Regions from separate parts of the Homo sapiens genome. Here all the other regions are linked to region 2. The links are contacts of gene promoters, found by promoter capture Hi-C in blood cells and fetal thymus (Javierre and others, 2016). All regions are on one chromosome and are shown on one strand. Each heading gives the region's core, a stretch centred on a gene start or on the middle of the fragment in contact. The rest is flanking DNA. Distances are from core to core; before and after follow the strand shown.

Evidence for each region. The method cuts DNA at HindIII sites, captures the fragments that hold promoters and counts their contacts. A CHiCAGO score of 5 or more calls a contact.
Region 1: a fragment that was not itself captured here is called in contact with the fragment with the promoter of GLB1L2 in region 2 in 8 of 17 cell types (naive CD8 T cells, total CD8 T cells, naive CD4 T cells and 5 more); the score reaches 8.6 in naive CD8 T cells.
Region 3: a contact is called between a fragment that was not itself captured here and the fragment with the promoter of GLB1L2 in region 2, in 2 of 17 cell types (naive CD8 T cells and activated CD4 T cells). The highest score is 5.5, in naive CD8 T cells.

Annotation. Positions count from the first base shown.
Region 1 is chr11:134,059,627-134,063,826 of GRCh38, forward strand. No RefSeq gene overlaps it. Among named protein-coding and RNA genes, the nearest start is that of JAM3, 7.3 kb to the right of the region's middle. The HindIII fragment of the contact is 526 bases long and covers 1,126-1,651 here.
Region 2 is chr11:134,329,113-134,333,237 of GRCh38, forward strand. GLB1L2 (galactosidase beta 1 like 2) reads left to right here and starts at 2,876. Exons shown (of 19, transcript NM_001370461.1): 1 at 2,876-3,035. The coding sequence starts at 2,950. RefSeq lists a silencer at 2,726-3,025. The HindIII fragment of the contact is 5,891 bases long and covers 1-4,125 here.
Region 3 is chr11:133,991,274-133,995,188 of GRCh38, forward strand. No RefSeq gene overlaps it. Among named protein-coding and RNA genes, the nearest start is that of LINC02730, 15 kb to the right of the region's middle. RefSeq lists an enhancer at 2,362-2,862. The HindIII fragment of the contact is 158 bases long and covers 1,799-1,956 here.

The DNA.
Region 1 (4,200 bases), core at 139-2,638, 270 kb before region 2:
AAATTTTCTCAATTATTCTAAGCACGAAGATATTATTTTATTCCCAAAATGCTTCATAGGTGGTTCTGCAATGCACGCCCTTATGACACCTGTGTGAGTGTTTTTCTTAGCATTCTAACGTGTTTCTTGAACAACACTGTGTGGTACACCCCCCGGGATGCCTGAGATGAGGCCCTTCCTGAACTGGTGGTCCGATTGGAAGATATGATGTGGAAACCATAACTCTGACATGATATGTGTCATAGTAAGCCACGAGTATCTTGGCCAGTGGTGAGGGGTAAAAGAATTTACCAAGGTCGGACATGGTGGCTCACGCCTGTAATCTCAGCACTTTGGGAGGCCGAGGCGGGTGGATCACCCGAGGTTGGGAGTTCAAGACCAGCCTGGCCAACATGTCAAAACCCTGTCTCTACTAAAAATACAAAAATAGCTGGGTGTGGTGGTGCATGCCTGTAATCCCAGCTATTCAGGAGGCTGAGGCAGAAGAATTGCTTGAACCCGGGAGGTGGAGGTTGCAGTGAGCCAAGATCACGGCATTGCACTCTAGCCTGGGCAGCAAGAGCAAAACCCCATCTCGAAAAAAAAAAGAAAAGAAAAAAGAAAGTAGGAAAGTACATTGTACGTTGCCAGGGAGCAGTGGGCAAAACCAGCAGGAGAGAAGCTGACTGCGAAGAGACAAAGGCTGGCTGGGGATTTTTATAGGGTGGTTGTTGGGCGAATTGATAATGCCAAGGTAGCAGTGAGCTAACCTGCATTCTTCTATCAGCTGAGGTGTTTGACAAATTGAGGCATTTGATGACCAGCAGGAAGCCTGTGAGTTCTGCACCTTATCTGCTCAGGAGGGCTGCATGTCCTGGGCCATAAAGAAAGGCAGGCCTATAACTTATCTCCTTCCTCTTTTTGTCTATATGTTCCGGACCATGAGGGAAGGCAGGTCTATAGCTTATCTGCTTCCTCTATCTCTTTGCTTTCTCCTGGTGGTGCCAGCCTGACTCCTTTTCCCTAATTAGGACTCCACAATGTGATAGGGAGCATTGTGTTTGTCGTAGATTCATTCAAGAGGAACATGTTTGTTTGGAAGAAAATGTTATAGGACTATTTGGGAGAGGAACTAAGGCTTCAGGAAGCTTGGGAATGAAAGGAGATGCTCTGAGGCCAGAGTGGCATTTCGCGGGTTGAGCCTGAGGGATAAGGAGGAAGGAAGAGGGTGGAACCCTTGGGAAGAGGGAGGTCATGTGCTTCCTCACGTCGCCAGCGTGGTATCACTTTCCCAAACTGGCATGCTGCATGGTGAAGAATAAAAAGCACCTTGATAGAATTATACTGAGATGCTGAGAAATCCATAATCATAGAGTGATATTTAACAAACCTTTTCCAGGAATTGATAGCTGAAGCCAAAAAACAAAAAAAAAGTAAGCAAAGGTAGTAAAGTTTTAAGTAGCATAATAAAGAAATTGAACTGAATAGGTACATATTTAGAACTCTAAGCCCAAACATTTGAGAATACACACGGCACATTTAAAACAATTAACCATTAGTAAGCCATAATGTCAGGCTCAACAAATACAAAAGCATTGATTTTATATGGACCTTGTTCTCTGACCAAGGCAGTCATTGATGGTAACACAAGCCCAGGCTTCATATATTGAGAAGCTTATAAAGCAGACTTCTAAATGATAAGTGGTCAAGTAGAGATGACAAATGAAATTATAAAATACTTGGGACTTAGTGACAGTGAAGACAGTGTGTATTACAAATTGTGGGATGTAGCTACTGCAGTACTTAGAAAGGATTATAGCTTCAAACATACACATTAGCAAAGGAGGAGATTGAACACAGCATTAGACTCTAGAAGTCTGAACTAGAATCACAGTAAAAATATGGAATTACAATCCAATGCAATGGAGTGTGGGAGAGACGCACCCACAGTGTTACAGAAGCACACAGGAGGTCCACCCAAACCATCCTGGAGGGGACTCTGGGGCCAGGAAGTTCTACCATGAGGATATGATGCTGAAAGGGGTTCCAAGAGGACATGGTGATGTTAGGAAACTGACTAGTGTGAAAGGAAAATAAATCTTGGGACCCCAAAATCACTAAGCTGAAAAGTCAAGCTGGGAACTATCAGGCAAGCCTGCCTCCCGTTTTGTTCCTAAATAAATAGCTATAAAGATATTAAAGATACATACCTCCCTCACAATCTGCCCACAAGGAAATTCCTTGTGGGCCTCAAGGTCTTTACTCTAAAAATAGTTCTGTTGAATTTCACCTTGGCCATGTAAATTGATAGCTCATCTTCACAGGTACAGGATAGAAAGTCATCCCTGTGCTCACCTGAGACAAATGCATATCTGTTTGCTTCTTCTGCTCTATTGTTTATGTAAAAATGCAGATTCACTGAGCTGGACTAAGGCATACATGACTATTCCTCTACGCCTCTCTCACATGTAAGTTGTGATTTCAGTGAAAGGCTGATTAAAGACCCAAAATAATGCAGCCTTTTGTCTCTTATCTACCCATGACCTGGAATCCCCGAGTTGTCCTGCCTTTCTAGACCAAACCAATGGACATCTTACATGTATTGATTGATGTCTGCTGTCTCCCTAAAATGTCTAAAAGCAAGCTGTGCCTGACCACCTTGGGCACCTGTTCTCAGGATCTCTTGCGGGCTGCATCATGGGCCAATGGTAACTTATATTTGGCTCGGGATAAATCTCTTCAAATGTTTTACCGAGTTTGAGTCTTTTCAGCGACACCAGGCTGACGGGGAGGATAATACAGGCAGCAAGGACTGCGTTGGCAACTGCAGTGGCTCGCAAGAACCTGGCAAGTTTTAAGAACCACAGCTGACTCAGCGGAGCTAGATTCAAGGCAGTAGATGAGGGGGTGGTATGAGATGCGGAAGTTGTGATGCTCAGGAACATAGGGTGTGTTTTTTCATCCATGACTTCTTTAGTCGTACTAAGGCAGGGGTCCCCACTCCCCAGGCCGTGGACAGGTAGCTGTTACCAGCTGGGCCGCACAGCGGGAGGTGAGGGGTGGGAAGGAGAGCATGACTGCCTGAGCTCTGCCTCCTGCCAGGTCTGCATTAGTCTCATAGGAGCACAAACCCTTTTGCGAACTGCGCACATGAGGGATCTAAGTTGCACGCTCCTTATGAGCATCTAACTAAAAAGCCTGATGATCTGAGGTGAAACAGCTTCATCCGGAAACACTGCCCCACCCAACCCTTCCGTGGAAAGCTTGTCTTCCACAAAACTGGGCCCTGGTGCCGAAAACGTCGGGGCCTGCTGTACTAAGGGGTGTTAGCTACATGCTGAAGGTGCCAAGAATTTCAAGCAGCACGACGTGAGCAGATGTTAGCTCTGCAGGGCGCAGGAGTCTTATATTCATTCATTCCAGAGATACTTATTGAGCACCTCTTACTGTTCTAGGCCCTAGTCACAGTTTTGAAAAGAAACATCTAGATACAGGAAGACATACCTACAGATCATTTTAACAATCCAGATGAAAAATGAGGGAGCTGATATTGGGCCAGTGGTGGTGGGGGTGGCCACTCCTTCCCTGTGGGGAGTGCACAAGGAGAATCTTGTACCTCCAAGCTCAGCAGAGTTTCCTGTTTCCTTCCTGTGTTCTGTCTTGGGCAGCAGCTGGTGGTAGGCCTGGGGCACAGGGACAGTGCAAACCTAGGGAACAATGCCCGGCTGGAAAACAACATATTGCCTGGAAGATAAATGGACTAAGGTGTGACCTCTGAGTGTAAGGGTTGCAGAAGCATAGGTGCCCTTTGCAGATGTGGGATTCAAGCTCTCTGTCCTTCATGGGGTGTGTGGCCATCCGCACTGGAGTAGGTCTCCACTGAGTGTCTTGAGTGCTTTCAGGATTCTGAGAATCACCCAAGAGGACCAAATACGTCCACTCCTCCTGATCCAAAATTTCATGGGAATATAATTTCATGGCATTAAAGACAAAGTATAGAGTCTTTTTTCTTTTTTTGAGACAGAATCTCGCTCTGTCACCCGAGCTGGAGTGCAGTGGTGTGATCTTGGCTCACTGCAAGCTCTGCCTCCTGGGTTCACGCCATTCTCCTGCCTCAGCCTCCCGAGTAGCTGGGACGACAGGCGCCTGCCACCACGCCCGGCTAATTTTTTGTATTTTTAGTAGAGACGGGGTTTCACCGTGTTATCCAGGATGGTCTGG
Region 2 (4,125 bases), core at 1,626-4,125:
AAAAATAAAAAGTGAAACAGCAAATGAGACTAGTTTGACATGATCGCTTTTCCCACGTGACTTCACTGTACTGATTTTGAGCGAGTGTGGTTTTTATTCTCCTGTGTGTGCATTTTGTATGTGTTTCGGTTTCCCGCTGATTATCTGTGATACAGGAATTTTCAAGGAAGGAACTGTGCCCTCTGGGTCTGTTGGAGCTCTGACTTAGAGCAATGGAAATGGCACACCAACAAGATTTAACTTTTTTAAAAAGCATTTCTTGTATTTTCTAAACCCTGGACACTAGAAAGAAGGCCTGGGAAGAGGATGATTCCTGTGTACCAGGGATTCATTACCAAGCCAAGCACCTTGGCAGACCACTTTTTTACCCCACTCTTATGCCAGCTCATTGTAACTGTAGCTTTTGTTCCCAGGGATTTGAGTATTTTCACTGTCTGCTTTGGGTTAAGATCACTAAACATTTTGGAAAGGAGACACTGAAGGAGTATCTTGCTAATTTTTTTTTTTTTTTTTTTTTGAGACGGAGTCTCGCTCTGTCGCCCAAGCTGGAGTGCAGTGGCACGATCTCGGCTCACTGCAAGCTCTGCCTCCTGGGTTCACGCCATTCTCCTGCCTCAGCCTCTTGAGTAGCTGGGACTACAGGCGCCCGCCACTACGCCCGGCTAATTTTTGTATTTTTAGTAGAGATGGGGTTTCACCGTGTTAGCCAGGATGGTCTCGATCTCCTGACCTCGTGATCTGCCCCCCTCGGCCTCCCAAAGTGCTGGGATTCAGGCTTGAGCCACCGCACCCGGCCTAATGTTTTAAAAAACAAAAGTCTCAGGCTGGAAATGGTGACTCACGCCTGTAATCCCAGCCCTTTGGGAGGCCGAGGCAGGTGGATCACCTGAGGTCAAGAGTTTGAGATCTGCCTGGGCAACATGGTGAAACCCCGTCTCTACTAAAAATACAAAAATTAGCCGGGGAAGGTGGTGGGTGCCTGCAGTCCCACCTATTCGGGAGACTGAGGCAGGAGAATAGCTTGCATCCCGGGAGGCATTGCAGTGAGCTGAGATTGCACCACTGCACTCCAGCCTGGGTAACAGAGTGAGACTCTGTCTCAAAAAAAAAAAAAAAAGTCTCAGCCTATGAGCAAGACGCATCTCGGGTTAGTGCTAACTTTGTAGCATTCTGTGGTATCATTAAGCCCAGATAAAGTAAAATTGTTCCTAGACTGTGAGCAGGGTGTGTCCCTAGTTCTGAACATCCCACAAGGTTAAGGGGAAATTTTTTTGAAAACACTCAGTTATGTATATTTTTCTCGCACAAATAAAAACGAAGGATACAAGGGTGGGCCAAGGAGTTCACGGTTTTCACAACCCATGTTAAGTTTTTGCTAACGTTTGAAGAAAAATGGAGATGCTTGTATTGCTTAAACCATTTGAGAATTCCCTTATATTTGATAGATTCTGCCACTGTTCAACGTGACCAGAAGTGAGAGGATGAATGTGGGGTGCATGTCTTTCGGATGGTCCCCTGCAGGCAAAGGGGCTAGCCTTTGACAATTTCTCCACACGCTTCGGGGCTAGCTGGTATATTCCAATTAAACCAACATGTTTCCATCACAGACTTCATAGCCATCAAGCAATCATAGCCTTACCCAATGGAGAAAAGGAGCGGGCTTGGAGCGCGTCCACGGGAGTGGGCCTCCCTCTGCGCGCCTCTGGGAATGTTTGCGGTGCTTAAGTCAGACCCGGATTGCTCCAAGCCCAGCTTATCCTCCCCAGTTCTGCCAGGGTTTTTTTCCTCTTGTTTGTTCGTTTGTTTTTGCCTCTCTTTGATTTAACTTTTGCTCCTTGACTAAATATGTGCTTAACGCTAGACAAAGGACACTTCATACCCAAGTCTGTGTCTTTGTTCCAAGATCTGCAATTTCATTTGGTTCCTGTCGGCTTTACAAGTTCAAAACTATGCCCCCGTTTAGGAAATGAATTCAAAGCATGCGGCAAGGGAGACATTCGACAAACCCGGATGCTCTGGAAAACGTTGCCCTTCCTCGAGTTTCTTTCAGTAAAATCTGAATTTTGTTCCCGGGAGGAGTTGGGTTTGTGATTGCTACAGTGTAAGTTGCACCGAAATACTACATCATGTTCTTTGGGACATACATTCTGTTTCAGAATAAGAATGATATTCTTCCTTTCCTAAAATGTGAGAGTTTTATATGGACCTTTTTAAAATAAAAAATTGGAAGCCCTTGGAGTCAAGGCCAGAGTAAGACTCGCAGAAACCAAAGACAGAAAATATTTGGAACCCCCCCTCCTCAGACATGAACCACACTGAAATGTGTCCAGATACAATTCTTCAAAATCCTGGCTTTTCACAGGATGATTTGTTATTGAAAAAGTTGTTTGCTTCAGAATCTGAATTGTTTTAAAAGATTCTGTTGGTTGCCCCTGCTTTGCGGACGCCTTTTGTACGTTCTTCCTGATGTAGCGCTGCGAGGGGCGACTTTACCTCGGCGTTTGACAGGTACGCAGCATTCCCGCACCCGCCTGCGCCTCGCGAGCAGAAAGACGGCGGACTCTGCACCGCTCCACGACACTGGGGACCCGCCCCGGCCAGACCCGTCCCCTACCGAGACCTTGTCCCCGCCCCGCCCCCGGCCGGGGCCCCGCCCCGCCAGCCCCGCCCCCGCCAGCCCCCTCTCCTACCGAGACCTCGTCCCCGCCCACCAGCCCCGCCCCGCCCCCCCCCCGACAGAGGCCCCGCCCCGGCCCCGGCCAGCCCCGCCCCCGCTTGCGCGAGGCCTAGGGCTGCAGGCGCGGAGCCGCGAGCCCCAGCCAATGAGCGCCGGCGGGCCGGTTGCCCAGGCGACCAGTGCGCGGCTCCGCCCCCCGCGGCGAGGCTCCCGCGCGCGGCTGAGTGCGGACTGGAGTGGGAACCCGGGTCCCCGCGCTTAGAGAACACGCGATGACCACGTGGAGCCTCCGGCGGAGGCCGGCCCGCACGCTGGGACTCCTGCTGCTGGTCGTCTTGGGCTTCCTGGTGCTCCGCAGGTGAGAGAGAGCTTCGCGCAGCACCTGCCGGACCCCACATTCCCCAGCCCTCCGCACCTCGGGTTCTCTCCTCCCGCGACCCGCGAATCCCGAGTTCCCGGGGGGAGCAGCCCCAGCTGCTTCTTTCTGGGAGCTCCCCAATACCCCCGAGTTCCCCTGCGGCTGCAGGCACTCTACTCCTGCCGCGCGATCCAGGCCTCTGGGCGACACCCGGCGTGCCCTCGGGAGCCGGCGTCTGTGCCCCGAGCCGCCCACCCCGCCGCGCCTGTGACGCCGGGCTCTGCCCCCCGTGGACGCCCGCAGCCCTCCAGCCGTCAGAGCCCTCTCAGACGCACCCCATCGCGGCCCCGTCCCCACTGCTCCGCGGAGAGCTCCCTCTGCCCTTCCCCCAGGCCCCCCTTTTCCTCCCAAGCCTCTGGGAGGCGCCTTATTCCGCAGAGGCCGGCGCTTCAGCCTGGCAGGTATGGTCTAGCCAGCTGGCCTGGCAGGGTCGTAAGAACAGTGTCCGTGGGCCTCCAAGATCCCGGGCCATGATTTATTTGCACAGTAGGACTGATAGGTCGTCTCTCTCCACTTTCCCACCATTCACCTGTTACCAGCTCACCCTTTCCTCTCCCCCTTTTCCAAATGTTGTTTATGGCAAAGGAGTGGCTTCAGTGATACTGTGATTTACCCACAGCCTGTGAAAAAGTTTTCTGGGTGCCCTAGCCCAGCATTTTTCTAAACTGTGCTTATTTTAAGGATTCTACAGCCCTGACCCTATCTTTCAGGTCAGCACTTTCCATATTCAAAACCTCCAGTGGGAAGCCGACCGGCAGTATCGAATGAACTGAACGGTTGGAAGTGGTGGCAGGCCCTACGCCGCTCGGCTTTGTCATTTGCTTCTTTTTTACTTAGAGAAACTAAGTTCTTAGTTTCTCTGCACTTCCCCTGGGAGACAGGGAAGTTTTTGATGGAGATAAATATCTGGAAGTCCTTTGTGGCCAGAAGAACACACTGACAAACTCTATGTTTACACCTTGTCAAGACTGGATTCTTGTTTCTGAGATAGTGGGGACGTCATGATATTGTTTGGGAGAAGGACGGATTT
Region 3 (3,915 bases), core at 628-3,127, 340 kb before region 2:
AAGTCTGACAGTGTGCAGCCCCCCAGCAGGGCTCTGCGGCTAGCCCCACGCTGGGCCCCTCTGCCCAACCCCTGACACCCTGAGCACGTCATCAGGTGTGGCCGTCAGCATAGGAAGCAGCCATTGCACGTGGGAACGTTCCCCAAAGCCCCCACCCTCTCCAGACCACCTGCGATTTAGGCTTCCAGAATCCTACCTTGTCTCACGCGCAGACCCACTCAGGTTCAGAAGGATGGACCCACCCTGACCAGGACTTGGTCTTAAGGAGAGTGTTTCAAAAACTGCCTGACCTTCAACTTGATCCCAAATATCTCCTTGCTGACTCCGTGGGACTTCAGGTCGGTCAAGCCTCTGGGGCTTCTTGGCGAATCTCGAATTTGATGGTATATCTGGAAACCAGCTTCATGGGCTGTCTGCGGAGAGCAGTGGGCTTGAGCAAGACAACCAATGCTGTGGGAAGAGAATGCACTCGGAGAACGCACGGACTCATGGGGGCCAACACACACCGGGGCCTGTCGGAGGTCAATGGGGTCGGGGGAGGGAGCCTATCAGGAAGAACAGCCAATGCATGCTGGGCTTCATCCCTGGGTGATTCGATGGTCTCTGCTGCAAACCTCCATGGCACACCTTTACCTGCGTAACAAACCTGCGCATCCTGCACGTGTACCCCTGAACTTAAAATAAAAATTAGAAATTTGAAAAAAGAAAGAAAAGAAAATGCATTCAGAAATGGCAGTGAGCTGGCCCGGCTGGCACGCAGGTAGACACCCACTTGCTGAGACTCGAGATATCTGCTCCTGCCTTTGATTCTGGCACTGTCTCCAGAGCTTTGTGTTAAAAATGTAAATGTTATTATTCATATGCAACCTGGGAGGAGTAAAACATTAGTATTTCCGCACTGCCATTTTATCACCCTAGTAGATCAAATACCTGAGGAGAAAAAGCCGGAATAGGGTATCTAGGAAGAAGGAGGGGAAGGAAGTCCTGGAGACAAAGATTTTTGTTTCACAATTTTGCCTGAGGCCACACCTTCGTGATGCTCTCTGGAAGGGAACACCCCAGGCAGGAAAGGATCACCAGGTGTCAATCCCAGCTGGTATCACAGTCTGCCTCAGCCTTGCCCTAGGTCATTAGGAGTCAGAAGAACCACTGTCACCCTCTCCCCCGTTTAGAGATGTTAATCTGATCACTAACCTGTCTCTGCAAAGTGTGAACATTTGTTTTTCTTAGATCAGTTGATACAAGGTTGAAATTATTCAAAGGGAATTCTTAAAATATGAGACAGAAATGCAAAAAAACAGAAAATGCAGACAACTGTTTTCTCCTAACACAGTGCATCTCTTTCTGCGGGTGCAAATGGCCCTGCTGGCTGCTGGAATTTCCATGTCCTCAGAATCTAAGACTTCTGTTCAATAAAATTGTATCAAATCCCAGGGACATGGATGAAACTGGAAACCATCATTCTGAGCAAACTATCGCAAGGACAGAAAACCAAACACCGCATGTTCTCACTCATAGGTGGGAATTGAACAATGAAAACACTTGGACACAAGAAGGGGAACCTCACACACCGGGGCCTGTCGTGGGGTTGGGGGAGTGGGGAGGGATAGCATTAGGAGATATACCTAATGTAAATGATGAGTTAATGGGTGCAGCACCCCAACATGGCACATGTATACATATGTAACAAACCTGAACCTTGTGCACATGTACCCTAAAACTTAAAGTATAATAATAATAAAATTTAAAAAAATTGTGTCAAATCCATAGGTGTTTCATTTTTTCTTCAAGTTAAGCAAGCTTTATTATGTTATAACTTATTTGCACAGAAGCGATAGACTACAATAATATAAACTGCAGTGTAGATTGTAGTCAAACTTTCTAGTATCATGTATTTTCATTTGATCTACACATTTCAATCAAGCATATCTAATATATTTGCTGAAACCACTTGGAAGCTTGGACCAGGGGCTCACGTGAACCTCAGACTGAAGTCGTAGCTTCAGTGTGGTGTTGCCACTGTGCCTTCCTGGGGTGGGGCTCCGGGAGTGTGGGGGCAGAGCCAAACTTCTGCCTGCAGCCCAGGCTGCTGGAGCCGTGGCCTGGGTGGCACCTCCCAGCTGAGGCGGGGGCTACTCTCTCTGGCCCCCAGGCATTGCAGAGACAATCACCATGAACCACGAGGACGCTTCCTTTGTCCTTCTGGAAGGGTCTGTGGCTCTCAGCCTCCTCTCGCCCCAGCCTTCTCTGTCATAGTCCTCGCTCTGTCACTAACCAGCTGTGACCAAGGGCTTTGGGATCCATACTTGGGACTGGTCTCTCTACTTCAGTGCTTTGCAGTTTGACTTTCTGCAGTGATGGAGACATTCAATATGGCAGCCACTAGCCAAGCAGAGGGGGCTTCTCAGCACTTACAACATGGCCAATGTGCCTGAGGAACTGAGGTTCGAATTCTATTTCATCGTCATTAATTTAAATGTAAAAGGCCAGACATGGTGGCTCATGCCTGTAATCCCAGCACTTTGAGAGGCTGAGGCGGGTGAATCACCTGAGGTCACGAGTTCAAGACCAGCCTGGCCAACATAGTGAAAGCCCATCTCTACTAAAAATACAAAAAGGGGTGGTGTCATGTGCCTGTAATCCCAGCTACTTGGGAGGCTGAGGCAGGAGAATTGCTTGAACCCACGAGGTGGAGATTGCAGCCAAGATCACGCCACTACGCTCCAACCTGGGCTACAGAGCAAGACTCCGTCTCAAAAAAAAAAAAATGTAAAGAAACAGATATGCTAGTGGCTACCATTCCAGACAGTGCAGCCCTGGCGAGTGGCCACATGGGCACCGCCGTCACCAGAGGCCCCTGGCGCCTGTCAGGAACCTACGCGCCAGCCCTCCAGGCTGCAGGGACATGCACCTTGGAGCTTACATTTAAAGACCTACCCAGTCTAAGAGATGCTTTCTTTTCATCATATCTGCGCAGCAGATTTATACCTTTAACCTTTAATTATAGCGTCAGCCTACGGAATGATCTGTTTCTCTCCAGGTTGGATAATGGGCTCTGCCACCACTAGGAGATCTTTACTTCTCCCTTGTGGGTGCCAGAGGGGGGTGCCACTGAGGAGAAATACCTGAGTGGAGAGGAGGAAACGCAGCCATACTGTGCAGCACCTAAATGCCAAGGAAAGGAGTTCAGGCGTGATGCCTTCAGCAGTGAAAAATCCTTGAAGATTATAGAGCAGAGGGGTAGCAAAGGTAGCAGACAGTGAAGGAAAGCCTGCGAGGTTGAAAGTCTAGAAGCATTGGATTTGGTTCTCTTCACTAGCTATGAAGAAGTATCTTATTCATAGCTCACATTTCTGAGACTCAATTTAATCTTTGTCTGTAAAATGGGGATAGTACCCACCTGTATTAGTTAGGAGTCTGCAGACAGAGTCAATAAAATACAGATAGATAGATACAGATATATAGTTACATAGATAGATATAGATATAGAATATATATATATATATGTATAGAAAGAGAGAGCGAGAGAGAGAAACCAGGCTTTAAGGAATTGGCTTACACAATTATGGAGGCTGACAAGTCCAAAATTTGTAGAGTGGGCCAGCAGGCTAGAGACCCAGGGAAGAGCCCACGTCGTGGTTCAAGTCCAAAGGCTGGCAGAATTCCTTCTTTCTCAGGGGAGGTCAGCCTTTTACTGCATTTAGGCCTTCAGCTGATTGGCTGAAGCCCACCCATATTCCAGAGGACAATCTCCTTTACTCCAAGTCCATCAACTTAAACGTTAATCTCATCCAATACATCCTCACACAAACACCCAGAATATTGTTTGACCAAACAGCTGGGCACCCTGAGGCCCGGCCAAGTTGACACATAAAATTAACCATCTGAACACCCTGTAGTGAGGGCCACATTCAT